Regions from separate parts of the Homo sapiens genome. Here region 2 is linked to region 1. The links are contacts of gene promoters, found by promoter capture Hi-C in blood cells and fetal thymus (Javierre and others, 2016). All regions are on one chromosome and are shown on one strand. Each heading gives the region's core, a stretch centred on a gene start or on the middle of the fragment in contact. The rest is flanking DNA. Distances are from core to core; before and after follow the strand shown.

Region 1 (6,987 bases), core at 1-2,500:
GGAAAAGGGAGCAAGAGTGATGTGTCCCTCCCTAGACAAACAGTAGCCTCTCAAGCCAGGAGCCCAGGGCAGGAGCAAATTGAAGTGGGCAGAGCCCTTCCTCACCCCCAAGCGCTGGGAGGAGGGAAAGGGGGAGAGGGGCTGGACAGGGATGAGAGGGTTGGGGAGGGAGAGAGGGGAGAAGGGAGAGCGAAGGGAAGCCCCATGGCGATAGCATCAGGCGGTTGGCTGGTTGCCCCACTGCCCCATATCACAAGTGGTTGGGTCACCAGACAGGAAGGGCCAGGAGGGATGGGGGTAGGGGTTGCTGCACACCCAGGATGGCCATTCTCGGTGGAAACAAGCCTCAGGTGTCCAGGAAAACTGGAGGAGGGAGTGGCTGCGCTGTCTTTCCCTGGCTTTCTTTCCACATCTGGTCTCCAGCTGCCTTAATTCTCATTCCCTCAGCCCTCACCACTGTGGAGCCAGGTCTCCCCGCACCCTGCCGGCGCGCCCCCCAGGACCCCTCGCCACTCACGCAAAAGGCCAGCAGGAGGACGTAGAGCAAGAACTTCACACATTTCATTCCTCCTTCCACCGCCATGGCTGCCGGGCCTGGGGCAGAGGGGAGGGCGGGGGGATTAAAACTGGCCGAAGGGGGACCTCGGTTTCCGGGCTCCCGGCCGGCCCTCGAGGGCTTCCCTTCACGGCCCCGATTCCCGGCCCCTCCCACCCGGAAACCCGCGGTCGGATCCACGTCTCCCAGCCCCCTCTTTACCCGCAGGAGAGGGGTGGGGGCGACGGCCGCGAAGCCCGGACCCCGCCCCGCCGCCTCTGGGGCCCAGGACAGATCCAAGGGCGCCGGCAGGGGCTTGAGCCTGACGCCGACCCTCGGCCCGCCAGTCTCCGGGCGTCAAACACCCTTTCCCCACCCAACACCCAGCCTGGAGAAACGGTCTTCAGCCCAACCCCGACCCCCGCCCCAGCCCCTTTCCCCTGGGCTCTGACCTCCCCGCCCACCAAAAAAAAAAAAAGTGCAGCCAGCACCCCCGCCACACCCTGCCCGGGCCCAGGGAACTTCGAAGCAAAGTTGCTCCAGGGCGGCTGGAGAGCGCCGGACGAGTCTCCGCGGGCCTGGGGCGAGCCCTGGAGGAAGGGACTGCGGGTGGTCTCTCCCAGCCCGCGCCGAAGTCCGCCGGGTCCCCGCGGCCTCACCTGGGCTTCCCAAGGCTGGCTGCGCGTTCCTCTCCCGCCGCGGCTCCGGGGCTCTCTAGCTGCGCCCCCCGGCTCCCGCCCCGCCTGCCGCGCGGCCCCGCCCCGGGCTCCAGCCACGGTCCCCTCCCCCGCCGAGTGGCCGCCGGCCTCCCTCATGTGACGCGGTAACAGCTGCGGCCTGAGTCACTGGGCCCGGCGCGGGGTGGGCCGAGCCCCCCGCCCGGCCAGGGCCACGTGGCCCCTACCCGGAAGAAGGCGCCCACCCCCGCAAAGGGAAAGCCGCAAGGGCAAGACCTCGGGGCGCCTGGGGCCCCCCTCTGGCGCTATACCTCCGTGCCAACTCGGGGTAGGAGAGCGGGGCGGAGCGCAGCCTGGGTCACTCTGGTTCAGAGAAGCGGACGAGGTGGGTGAGAGTTACCCTCTGAGCGCCGGGGCGGAGAGCTGAGGCCGGGTGACAATGTGGTCTGTGAGGTTTCCCCATCCTACCGTAGGGGATGAGCCAGCTCTCTCCTCTGGCTCCAACTCTGTGCAAGCCCCCTCCCCATCCGACTGTGCAGACAGCTGGGGACTGCCTGGGGTCGGGTGGGGCCAGAACAAACACTTCCAGAAAGTCCCTGGCTCACATCCTGGGTGTCTCCCAACATTCTACAGCATTCTAGAGTGGGGATTTCTGGCCCCCCTCTATTAGCACAGCTTCTCCATTTTCCAGGGATCCTAGTCTGAGAAAAGGGGAGGAAGCCCTTCCCCGAAGCCACGCTACCCAGTCAATCAAGACACGTCCGCGTCGGGTCCCGCCCTCTGGGGGAGGATTGACAAGGTCTGTGCTTCCAGCCTCCCAGACAGCTCCTGCATCCGTCTGTGATAGCGAGGGCTTGGGGGAAGACACGAAGGCAGGAGAGGCTTACATCCTCTGGATTTCCCCGTCTTATCCCAGAAGACAAAGCCAGGTGAGGGCTGGAAGCGGGCTAGGGGGATCAAGCTGCCTCCCTCCCTTGTGTGCCAGGGGTGGTCCCCAGAAGGAGCTGATCTGAACAGGCCGGAGAGTAGGACCGGCCGTCACACCCCCACACCTCCAGCCTCGGCCCCACTCCTTGGGCTCTTAAGGTCCTGCCTCAAGAACCACTTCCTGAGTCTTAGTGTATGTGTGTACACAAAGAATGAAAGAAGTCTCTAGAGCTAAAGGAAGGAGATCCGGGCTGGGCTGAGAAGCATCTTCCAGGATCACGGCCTTCCCGCGGGACACACCAAGCCCATTCCGGATCTTGCTCTTCCTGACCATGGCTGGCAGGCTGTGGAGGAGGAGCGGAGAGCAGAAGAAAGGAGTATTCATCAGGTTCCTTATTGTGCTGCCACTAGATGCCAGGCATGTGCTAGGCTTGGGGGCTGCAAGGAGAGGAAGACAGCGGCCCTGCCCTCTGCTAGCAGGCAGAACCGAGTTCTGGCCACACTGTGAAGAAAGGCAGAAGCCTGCGGTGGCAGCTGGTTAAGCTCAGAGGGAGGGAAAGGGAGAGGAGAATGGATTTCACGGAGCAGAAGGATGTGCTCAAGGTGACCTTGGAGAATAAAGGGGAGAGCTCCAGGGACAGAGAAGCAGTCGACTGTGGAAAAAAAAGGAGCATTTTGTAAAGTACATGGCAGGTTGGGGTTGGCTGGCTCAAAGGGCTTGGGACGGATGTGGTGAGATGGGCTGAAGGTGGTCTGAAGATCAAGATTGAGAGACTAGATACATAACAACCAACTGCAATGTTTGGTCCTTCATTGAATGGTTGAACAAACCAGCTGTGAAAGACATTTTGGGACATACAGACATGGACTGAGAATTAGACATAAGAAAATTATTTTGTTAACTGTTATCATGGTTAACAAAACGGTCATATAATATGATTATGTAGAGAAGTTACTCTAGTTTTTCCTCTTTTTTTTTCTTTATTCTCCTATCAGCCAATGCATTTGTTACAGGAAAGGGGTCCCAATCCAGACCACAAGAGAGGGTTCTTGGATCTCATGCAAGAAAGATTCAGGGCGAGTCGCAGTGCAAAGTATAAGCAAGTTTATTAAGAAAGTAAAGTGGTGAAACAACAGCTGCTCCATAGACAGAGTAGGATGTTCCCCAAAGTAAGAGGAGGGGCTAGGCGCAGTGGCTCACCACACCTGTAATCCCAGCATTTTGGGAGGCCTAGGCAGGTGGATCACCTGAGGTCAGGAGTTCGAGACCAGCCTGGCCAACACGGTGAAACCCCGTCTCTACTAAAAATACAAAAAGTAGCTGGGCACAATGATGTGTGCCTGTAGTCCCAGCTACTCAGGAGGCTGAGGCAGGAGAATCACTTGAACCCAGGAGGCAGAGGTTGCAGTGAGCAGAGATCGTGTTGCTGCATGCCATCCTGGGCAACAAGAGTGAAACTCCGTCTCTCTTTTTTTTTTTTTTTTTTTTGAGACGGAGTCTCGCTCTGTCACCAGGGTGGAGTGCAGTGGTGCCATCTTGGCTCACTGCAACCTCCGCCTCCCGTGTTCAAGTGATTCTCCTGCCTCAGCCTCCCAAGTAGCTGGGACTACAGGCACGCACCACTACGCCCAGCTAATTTTTGTGTTTTTAGTAGAGATGGGGTTTCACCATATTGGCCAGGATGGTCTCCATCTATTGACCTCGTGATCCGCCCCCTCAGCCTTCCAAAGTGCTGGGATTACAGGCGTGAGCCACTGTGCCCGGCAAAACTCTGTCTCAAAAAAAAAAAGTAAGAGGAGGAACACATTCACCCTCGGTATAATGCTTGTATATATGGAGAGATGTGCTCTGCTACAAAAGTTTGTGATAAAGGATTAATTTTCTTAATTACTGTATTTTGTAAGAATCGATATTATCTTTTTTATTATTATTAATTTGTTTCCTTAACCATAAACATCTAGGTTTTTTGTTTTTGTTTTTGTTTTTGAGATGGAGTTTTGCTCTTGTTGCCCAGGCTGGAGTGCAGTGGCACAACTCACCACAACCTCTGCCTCCCAGGTTCAAGAGATTCTCCTGCCTCAGCCTCCTGAGTAGCCGGGATTACAGGCATGCGCCACCATGCCTGGATAATTTTGTATTTTTAGTAGAGCCGATATTGTGCCATTGCACTCCAGCCTGGGCAACAGAGCGAGACTCTGTCTCAAAGAAAAAGAAAGAAAGATGAAAATGTTGTGGAGATGGATGGTGCTGATGGTTGCACAATGTGTATGTACTCAATGTCCCTGAATTTTATGTTATATATATTTTACTACACACATACACACAAAGAATGGCCCACTTCTACAGCCTGGAAAGTTGACACAGAGCTCCATGTGTTTGCTGGGGTGCAGGATAGAGGGGCCTCTTAGTGGGAAGTGGCTGATCTCAGACCTGGCCCTTCACATCCTTCAGATCCCCCAGCACCTGTTCCAAGTGCCTGACATCCAGATATGCCACCAAGCCGTCCTGGCTGGCCCAGGCTGCTGCCTCTTGGTTGCCTGGCACCAGTTGGTGGTAGGTGTGCTGAGGCGGGGACCCTTGTCCCTCCACACCAAGCAAAGCCAGCTTTCCCTCCAGCTTCACCACGCCTCCACCTAGGCCCAGCGACACAGCATGGGGGCCACAGATGTCTCAAGCAAACCTGCAGCCTTCTGAGAGCATGTAGGCATCAGCCAGACCCAGTGCCATGCACAGCAGCTTGTAGCCTGCATCTAAGCACAGGAAAGGGTGAGGGGATATGAGGAGGGTGAGGGGATATGAGGAAGGTGAGGAAGAAAGAAGGGATCCAGAATCAAGGGAAAAGAACAGTTGAGGAGAGTTGGGAGAGGGGTGAGGAAAAACCGGAAAGTGAGAGACATAGAGGAGGGTGGGAGGCATGGGGAAGGATGGGGGAAGAGGAGGCAAAAATACATGAAGGATCAATGCTTCTTGGGCTTCAGTTTAAAAAACATTTTCTTTAATTTTTGAAAAATAGGTGTAAGAGAGGAGTGGGGAGAGGGAAGAGGAAGAGATAGGGATGGGAGGGAAGAAGGAAACAAGGATGCATCATCAAAGCCATCCCCCCACTGGGAGGGTAAGGAGAGTGGTGGATAAAATTCAAGGTCCAGAGGTTGGGTCTGAAATGGGGGCCTGAAATTTAAGTCCAGAGGCCTCAGCTTTGGATAAGGATAGAGGCACGGTGCTTGATGGCATCTCTCAGATCGCAGGGTGAAGGAGGGGCTGCACCTGCGCGTTTGCAGGTCCTGCTGGCAGAAAAGCTCATAGACCATCCCGCAGGGCTCTCCAGAGAGTAGGTTATATGCCCCAGCACCAGCACTGAGTGCAGCCCCCAGGGGAGTACTGTGCACGGGCTCCATGGCGACATCACCACTATGTATTTACTGGTTGGTGGAGACTGGGGAACACAAAGGAGTCTCCAGGCCAGGCGCGGTGGCTCACGCCTATAATCCTAGCACTTTGGGAGGCCGAGGCGGGTGGATCACCTGAGGTCAAGAGTTTGAGACCAGCCTGGACAACACAGTGAAACCCCATCTCTACTACAAATACAAAAATTAGCCAGGTGTGGCCAGGGCGGTGACTCACGCCTGTAATCCCAGCACTTTGGGAGGCCAAGGCAGGCGGATCACGAGGTCAGAAGTTCGAGACAGCCTGACCAACGTGGTGAAACCCCGTCTCCACTAAAAAATACAAAAATTAGCCGGGCATTGTGGCGCACGCCTGTAATCCCAGCTACTCAGGAGGCTGAGGCAGGAGAATCACTCTAACCCCGGGAGGCGGCGGTTGCAGTGAGCTGAGAACACGCCATTGCACTCCAGCCTGGGCAACAGAGCGAGACTCTGTCTCAAAAAAAAAAAAAAATTAGCCGGGCGTGGTGGTGCACACCTATAATCCCAGCTACTCAGGAAGCTGAGGCAGGAAAATTGCTTGAACCTGGAAGGCAGAGGTTGCAGTGAGTCAAGATCATGCCACTGCACTCCAGCTTGGGCAACAGAGTGAGACTCCATCTCAAAAAAAAAAAAAAAGGAGTCTTCCAGTCACTGGGTGGCCATCTCTGCTCCAACTTTTTGGGGGAGGCCACACCCTTCATAATTGGCAAGACTACATTACCATGGTATCCAGAAGAACATATTGCCAAAGTCCCTTTTTTATCTCACTTCCAGGAAAGTGGGGCTCAGAGAGGTAAAGCCACTCACTCAGGGTCAACAGATCAACCTGCACGTAAGAATCTGGGTCTTTTTTTTTTTTTTTTTGAGATGAAGTCTCACTCTGTCACCCAGGCTGAAGTGTAGTGGCACTCAGCTCCCCAAAACCTCCGCCTACCAGTTTCAAGTGATTCTCCTGCCTCAGCCTCCCGAGTAGCCGGGATTACAGGCTGTAGCCCGCCACCACACCTAGCTAATTTTTTTAATTCTTTTTTATTTTTTTCCGACAGAGTTTCGCTCTTGTTGCCCAGGTTGGAGTGCAATGGCGCGATCTCAGCTCACTGCAACCTTTGCCTCCCAGGTTCAAGCGATTCTCCTGCCTCAGCCTCCTGAATAGCTGGGATTATAGGTGCCCACCACCACGCTGGCTAACTTTTTGTATTTTTAGTAGAGACGGGGTTTCACCATGTTGGTCAGGCTGGTCTTGAACTCCTGACCTCAAGTGATCCACCTGCCTTGGCCTCCCAAAGTGCTGGGATTACAGGCGTGAACCACCACACCCTGCCAGGGTCTTGATGTACCACTCCAGTGCTGTCACACCTGCCGCCAGCAAGAAGCTCTCTGAGGCCAGAAGCCCTGGTGTGAGACCTGGTTCTGCTGCTCATG
Region 2 (7,422 bases), core at 3,548-6,047, 66 kb after region 1:
ATCTACAAACAGAACTCCTAAATTGCTTCCATAGATTCTCTTGTGGTAATTATGAATTAGACATTATCTAAGGCCACTGGACAAGGCCTCCAGTACCATAAAACAGTTACATACATGGCTAACAAAATCCATTCTTACTTTCAAAAAGAGTGGTAGGAAGGAAGACGTCTGCAGTAATTGAACATGTGACAATTTTCCTGACCTCTCAGTATCTCCAACAATTTTTTAAATTCAAGACATACAACATTGTACTGAAAAGAGTCAACAAATTAATGTTCTCAGAGTTTCCTCTAATCTGGGGAGGAGGAGTCTCTAAAGTTAGCTATATAGAATTAAGATCTGGGTGTGTAAGAAATAAAAAAAGATTTCTTACCATAGGTTTGTTATCAGATGACAGACCTAAGGAAGTAAATAAAGTTTTATTTAATATTTTTAAAAGTCATCAAAGCCAACAGTCTTCAAGTCAAATTAGGCAACATAAAAACATCCTTTATCCTATGATGACAAAGAAAAGGCAGAAATTGCATGTAGCGATCATGTCTGCATTCACTGCTAGCAGGAACATAAAATGGTATAGCTGCTTTGGAAAACAATTTGGCAGTTCCTCAAAAGATAAATACAGTTACATATGATCCCACAATTCCACTGCTAGCTATACAGCTAAGAGAAAATGAAAACATATAATTACACAAAAATTTGTACATAAATGTTCACAGCAGCATTATTCATATTAGACAAAAAGTTAAAGAAAAACACCCATCAACTGATGACTGGCTAAATTAAGTATGGTATATCCATACAATGGAATATTATTAAACAATAAAAATGAATAGAGATACATGCTACAACATTAATGAACCTTGAAAACTATGCTAAGTGAAAGAATCCAGTCACAAAAGACAATACACTATACGCACTATACGAATTCATTTATATGAAGGCAAATTTCCATGGAGAAAAAAACCTCAGTGGCTGCTTAGGGCTGGGCAGGGAGAGGTAATGGAGGATATCTACTAATGGGCACAGACTTTCTTTTTGGGGTGATAAGCACGGTGATGATGGCTGCACAACTCTGTGAATATACTATGAAATAATGAATTATATATCTTTAAATGGATGAACTGTATGTTATATAAATTGCATCTCAGTAAAGCTATTAAAAAAGAGATCACATCTGGACAAACAAGAACTACTATCATGAGTTGAAATTATGGCTCCTGGCCGGGTGCAGTGGCTTACGCCTGTAATCCCAGCACTTTTGGAGGCCAAGGCGGGTGGATCACCTGAGGTCAGGACTTGTAGACCAGCCTGACCAATATGGTGAAATCCCATCTCTACTACAAATACAAAAATCAGCCAGGCGTGGTGGCGTACACCTGTAGTCCCAGCTACTCGGGAGGCTGAGACAGGAGAATTGCTTGAACCCAGAAGGCAGAGGCTGCAGTGAGCTGAGATGGCGCCACTGTGCTCCAGCCTGGGCGACAGAGCAAGACTCCATCTCAAAAAAGAAAAAAAGAAAAAAAGAGAAAAAAAGAAATTATGGCTCCTTAAGGCCAATTTTCTGTCCTGAAATTATCACCAAGAAACTAGCCAATAATTATTTACTTCAAACTTTTCAGGATTTCATTCAAAAAAACAGTGCTTGCTTTTAAATGTTCCCAAATTCCGTTATTTTTTAGAGTTACTCTATAGTTCTAAGATGTCAGAATTATGAGTAACACTGAAACTGTATTTTTTATCAGGTTCCCTTTTCAGACTATTAATTTTAACTATTATCTTTCTTCAAATAGCATTTTAGCCTTGCACCTGTAGTCCCAGTTACTCAGGAGGCTGAGGGAGGATTGCTTGAGCCCAGGAGCTCAAGTCCAGCCTGGGCAATATAGTGAAACCCTGTCTCTTAAAAAAAATAAAAAAGCACCACGTTCTATAATTTCTGTTGTATCTTCACCAATTATATCTCTCTTGATGCAACTAAGAGCCAGAAAAAAAATTTTTTTTTTCTAAAACACTTAGTGATAGCGGCCAGAATTTTTCTGTCTTTTTAAAAGCACAGCAAAACACTACAAGAAGATCTCTGGGGGACATTTTCTTACTTAAAACTACTGACGAGTCACAGGGAAAACTGGATTGAATTGGAAGACTACATTTAAGTTTTAAGTTCCTGAGAAAAGGGGCTATGTTCTTTTTGTTTTTTTGAGAAAAGAGTCTCATTCTGTCCCCCAGGCTGGAGTACAGTGGAGCAATCTCTGCTCACTGCAAGCTCCGCTTCCCACGTTCAAGCACTTCTCCTGCCTCAGCCTCCCAAATAGCTGGAATTACAGGCGCGCAACACCACACCCAGCTTTTTTTTTTTTTTTTTTTTTGTATTTTTAGTAGAGAAGGGTTTCGCCATGTTGGCCAGGCTGGTCTCAAACTCCTGACCTTAAGCAATCCACCTGCCTTGGCCTCCCAAAGTGCTGGGACTACAGGTGTGAACCACCGTGCCCAGCCTGTCCTTTTTTTAAATTCTGAGACAGGATCTTGCTCTGTCACCCAGGCTAGAGTGTCATGGCAAGATCACACTCACTGCCAGCCTTGACCTCCCAGGCTTAAGAGATACTCCCACCCCAGCGCCCCAAGTAGCTGGGACTACAAACACCTGCCACCATGTCTAGTTAATTTTTTAATTTTTTGTAGAAACAAGGTGTCACTTTGTTTCCCAAGCTAGTTTCCAACTCCTGGGTTCAACTGATCCTCCCGGCTTGGCATCCCAAAGTGCTGGGATTACAGGCATGAGCCACCATACCCAGCCGTTTCTTAAAAATAATAACTGTTTCAGGCTCGGCACACCTGTAATCCCACCATTTTGGGAGGCAGAGGTGAGTGGATCACTTGAGGTTAGGAGTTCAAGACCAGCCTGGCCAACACAGTGAAACCTGTCTCTACTAATAATACAAAAATTAGCTGGGTATGGTGTCACGCACCTGTGGTCCCAGCTACTCAGGAGGCTGAGGCAGGAAAATAGCTTGAACCTGGGAGGCAGAGGTTGCAGTGAACCAGATCACGTCCCTGCACTCCAGCATGGGTGACAGAGCAAGACTGTGTCTCAAAAAATAGTAATAATTTCCTCTAATTCATTACAAAAGTGATACATATTCATTGTATGGATTTTAATAACACAGACAAGCAAAAAGAAATAAATCATTCAAAATTCCACCAACCAGAGATAAGAGTATTAACAATTTAGAATACAGTCGTCCCTCCATTTCCTCAGGGGATTGGATCCAAACCCACCCCTCCAGCTGATACCAAAATCCACCACACTCAAGTCCTGCAGCAGATATAAGCTGCTCCTCCATATCTGCAGGTTTCACATCCCAAGAATACTGTATTTCTGAACCGCATTTGGTTATGGTGAACCCTCAGATACAGACAGCAAACTGTATTTATTGAAAAAAAAAAAAATCCAAGTATAAGTGGACCTGTGCAGTTCAAACCTTGCTGAAGTGTCTACTATGTATCCTTCCAAGCTTTTTTCCTATCTATACATGCACTCTTACATGACTAAAATGGGAACGTACTGTTAATATAATTTTGTAACTTTTTTCATTAATATCTCTGATAAATATCTTTCAATATTATTTCAGCACAGTAGTCTGCTATACCATGGCACACATTTAATAACTAATTCTCTGTTGTACAGTTGGTTGTTTCCAGTTATTGATCACTATAAATAATGCTGTGATAATCCCTGAGGCTAAGTCTTTATGCACATTCAAGACTATTTCCTTATACGTTCCTAGAAGTAAAACTGTTAAGGTAGAAGATATTCTTTTCCCTTTTATCACTTATAATAGCCAGTATAACACTAGATAGTATGCAATAATTTTATGCAGTTGAGACCCCAGAATAAGTAAGCAAAGTACTAGAGAAACTTCTTTGAAGATGTTCAAGAAAAGACAGACAAATGTTGGCACTTCCTATCCTCTCATAACATTCAGTATCTCTCTTAATTGCCCAGGAAGGCCTAAGTATAATTTTACCTAAAGCAGGAGATGAATGTTACAATCTCTTAAAGAGTTTCTACAGCTAGCAAATTTACCTTATTTTGGAGAAATAAAACCTGTTATACCAGAAAAGAAAGAATAAAAAGGTAACTTTCTCAGAAGTATCTCTGTACTCTTACCTTTTGTTGGAACTGAAGAAATCCCAAACCTGAAGAAGGAAAAACAAACTAAATTTTAGGAAGCTGTTCACACTCCTGGTTTGTCTGTCTCCGTGTCAAGTATACATATGACACTTCTTGCTTGTGATCTCAAGCCTTGCAATCATTAGCTAATTCTAACAACCCCATGAAAGAGGTTCAGAAATTAAGCTAAAAGGAAGCCTTATCAGAATTAGTAGTAGTCAGTTCCTGGCTTTAACTGTTACAAAAACCCTTCTCAATAAAGCTCAATTTATAGCTACTATAACCAAATCAGTAGACATGTTCTGAATAGGGTCAAAAAAGTGTTCATATCCTTCAGCAAGCCTCTATTCTACTTAAAATCAACAATTATACCTAAAAGCTAGGATCACACATCTTCATCTTTACAACACCCCTATCAGAGGCCCAAAAGGCTGGGGACACTCACCTAGCTGCCCGAGCAGCTTTCTTACTCTCCAAGCTCACAGGTACATTGAATCGTTCAGCCCTCTTCTGCATTCTCTAAGTAAAAATAGACAAAAGGGAGAAAAAAAAGTCAATTTATGGTTTAAGAAAGTCAGTCAGAGGTAGGTATCTTTAAAAAAAAAAAAAAAAAAAAAAAAAAGAGTCTCACTCTGTCCCCCAGCCTGGAGTGCAGTGGCATGATCTCGGCTCACTGCAACCTCAGCCTCCTGGGTTCGAGCGATTCTCGTGGCTCAGCCTCCTGAGTAGCTGGGATTACAGGACTGTGCCACTGTGCCCAGCTAATTTTTGTGCTTTTAGTAGAAATGAGATTTCACCATGATGGCCAGGCTGATATTGAACTCCTGGCCTCAAGTGAACTGCCCACCTCAGCCTCCTAAACTGCTGGGATTACAAGCGTGAGCCACCTGGCCCAGCCAAAGGTAGGTATCTTAAAAACATCAGAAGTAATTTCTTAGGGTCTAAACTGAAAATACTGACAATCCTAGAAGATATCAGGTTGTGTCCATGCTAGGACTTAACGGCCCTTCCCACAAAGCAAACAAAAAAAGACTATTACTAGATGCCCTCAAAAACAAAAGGGAGAAATAAAGTAAAACCTACATTATGCATGAAGCCAAGAAGTCAAAAGCTATGTTTGGCTGACCTTTGAAAAGTGATCAAAGGAATAGCTTGGTTCCAACACCAATGGTATTCTTTCAGTTAGAAATGAGGCAGCATTGTTTTATGCCATTCTAAAAGAGTTTAATAATTCTCTACTTTGCAAGTATGATACTGAACACAAGATCTCAAATGGAACCTGGTTTCACAGTCCTGCACCACAGAAACCAGAGAAATTTCAATCTCAGCTACTGGCCAGTAGCAACATAAGAGTCACATCTACCAATACATTTTCAAGGTACAATCCTCCTAAATCTAATCCTAGGTTTGAAAACATCTCAAAGAGAGTCACTGTTAAGACCATAATATTACATATAAAAAGACTACAACTTCAAGAATGACTACCCCTACGCCAGCCAAATATTTTCCAAAGAGTAGCTGGCAGTGAAACGTATCAACACCAAAATCTGCCAATACTGATTTTCTGCCTGTGAATAAATTTTAGAGGATGATGCAGATATAATAAAGGGTAAGAGGGAGAGAGAAATGTAGAGACTGTTCTACTAGGGAGCAGAATACCTACCTCAGTCTGTGGTATTTCAGATGTAATTTTCACCACTTTCTTCTCTGCTGCCCTAGAAAAGAAAGAGATTTTTTAAAATGAGAAAACTGATATTCTAAACCACAACCTCAGAAATGTGTAAGAATTCACCTGAGTCACCATTCTCTGCCCTATTATCTCTCTGCCACCCCCTAAGCCAAAGAAACATGAAGTCCACTAGAGCTTTGGTTCCTTTAACTGTCATCTATTGAGAGGAAAGAGTTCAAATAACAAACTAAGCTTCTTTAGCTAAAGTATAATAAAGAAATAAGGAAAGAAGTCTGGTTAAATATACTGGGCTGAAGGGAAACACTCAAAGGACACCAGAAACCATCTCATTTGCTTTTAGGAACTTTTCAATTTACTTTTATTTTTCTGAGACGGAGTTTTGCTCTTGTCGCCCAGGCTGGAGTGCAATGGCACGATCTCAGCTCACTGCAACCTCCACCTCCTGGGTTCAAGAGATTCTCCTGCCTCAACCTCCTGAGTAGCTGGAATTACAGGCACCTGCCACCACGCCGAGCTAATTTTTGTATTTTTAGTAGAGATAGGGTTTCACCATGTTGGCCAGGCTAGTCACGAACTCCTGGCCTCAAGTGATCCACCCACCTCGGCCTCCCAAAGTACTGGGATTACAGGCATCAGCCACCGAGCCCAGCCTTTAATTTACTTTTGAACTAATGAGTAACCCTCCAATCCTCCTTTAAGTACCACCTCCCAATGTTCATCACAACAATTAATAAGTACTCTACAAGGTCTGGTTTCCTTCTTTTAAAAATCCCTTATTTCTCCCATGGGGAATGTAGCTCTAGCTGGAACAGTCAAAGTGAAACAAATAAAAATGCCAAAGAAGGTAGGAAGAAAAAAGTCTAAGGGGAGTTTGAATTAGGAAAACATGGTAAGCTAGTGGTCAAAGGTTTAAGAGGAAACAAAAGAGGGGGGACCACAGGGGCGGGAGACAAAGTTCGGAAGTACCCACGATAAATGGAAGGGCATTAACCCTCCACCAAACAACTCCCATAAAACTGTGGGTCATAACCAGTCTCATTAAGGTCCCTCATTTAGAGACATGGGCAGCTTTTGTTCCAATATCCTGAACACTTTTCCCATTTGATGCCCTGAAAGGTAGTAATGGTTTAATGACATTTTCAGAGGAAGCAATTCTGGAATAAGAACTTACTCTCTTCCACCCTTTTATTGGAAATCCCTGGACTGAAGACAAGCAATGGGTGCCCCCTGCTGACTATAACGAAGTCCTACGATATGTAACCGCTTTAGCTGGTTGGGGGTTGGGAATCAAACTAGAAACAGGTATATTTTTGGAGAACTTCAGGCCAAACATGAAGAAGGGGATCTCCTTTTAAATAGTCAAGGAATCTAAACTAGCCCTGGCTATTCTGACGTTTAAAGAAATTTCTAAACGCTTCCCATTTCCTTGCCATCCTTCCCTAACCTTGTCTTATAATTTAGGCACAAAAGGCTAAAGTTTAATGTTTTACTTGAAATCCAATGCCATCAAGAAAGTAGTACTCTCCATCAACCCCAGTGTAATGACTTCCTCCCCATTACCATT

The links. Contacts are between HindIII fragments. The CHiCAGO score rates a contact against its expected background, and 5 or more counts as called.
Region 2: a fragment that was not itself captured here is called in contact with the fragment with the promoter of CD63 in region 1 in 1 of 17 cell types (megakaryocytes); the score reaches 8.7 in megakaryocytes.

Annotation. Positions count from the first base shown.
Region 1 is chr12:55,727,759-55,734,745 of GRCh38, forward strand. It overlaps CD63 (CD63 molecule), which reads right to left and starts at 1,251. Exons shown (of 8, transcript NM_001780.6): 1 at 1,195-1,251; 2 at 518-594. The coding sequence starts at 583. CD63-AS1 (CD63 antisense RNA 1) reads left to right here and starts at 1,336. Exons shown (of 2, transcript NR_183514.1): 1 at 1,336-1,597; 2 at 1,904-3,094. RefSeq lists silencers at 648-947, 1,218-1,597 and an enhancer at 1,077-1,683. The HindIII fragment of the contact is 20,987 bases long and covers 1-6,987 here.
Region 2 is chr12:55,790,194-55,797,615 of GRCh38, forward strand. It overlaps SARNP (SAP domain containing ribonucleoprotein), which reads right to left. Exons shown (of 11, transcript NM_033082.4): 5 at 5,832-5,883; 6 at 4,614-4,687; 7 at 4,166-4,194; 8 at 374-399. Among named protein-coding and RNA genes, the nearest start is that of SARNP, 24 kb to the right of the region's middle. The HindIII fragment of the contact is 2,580 bases long and covers 3,508-6,087 here.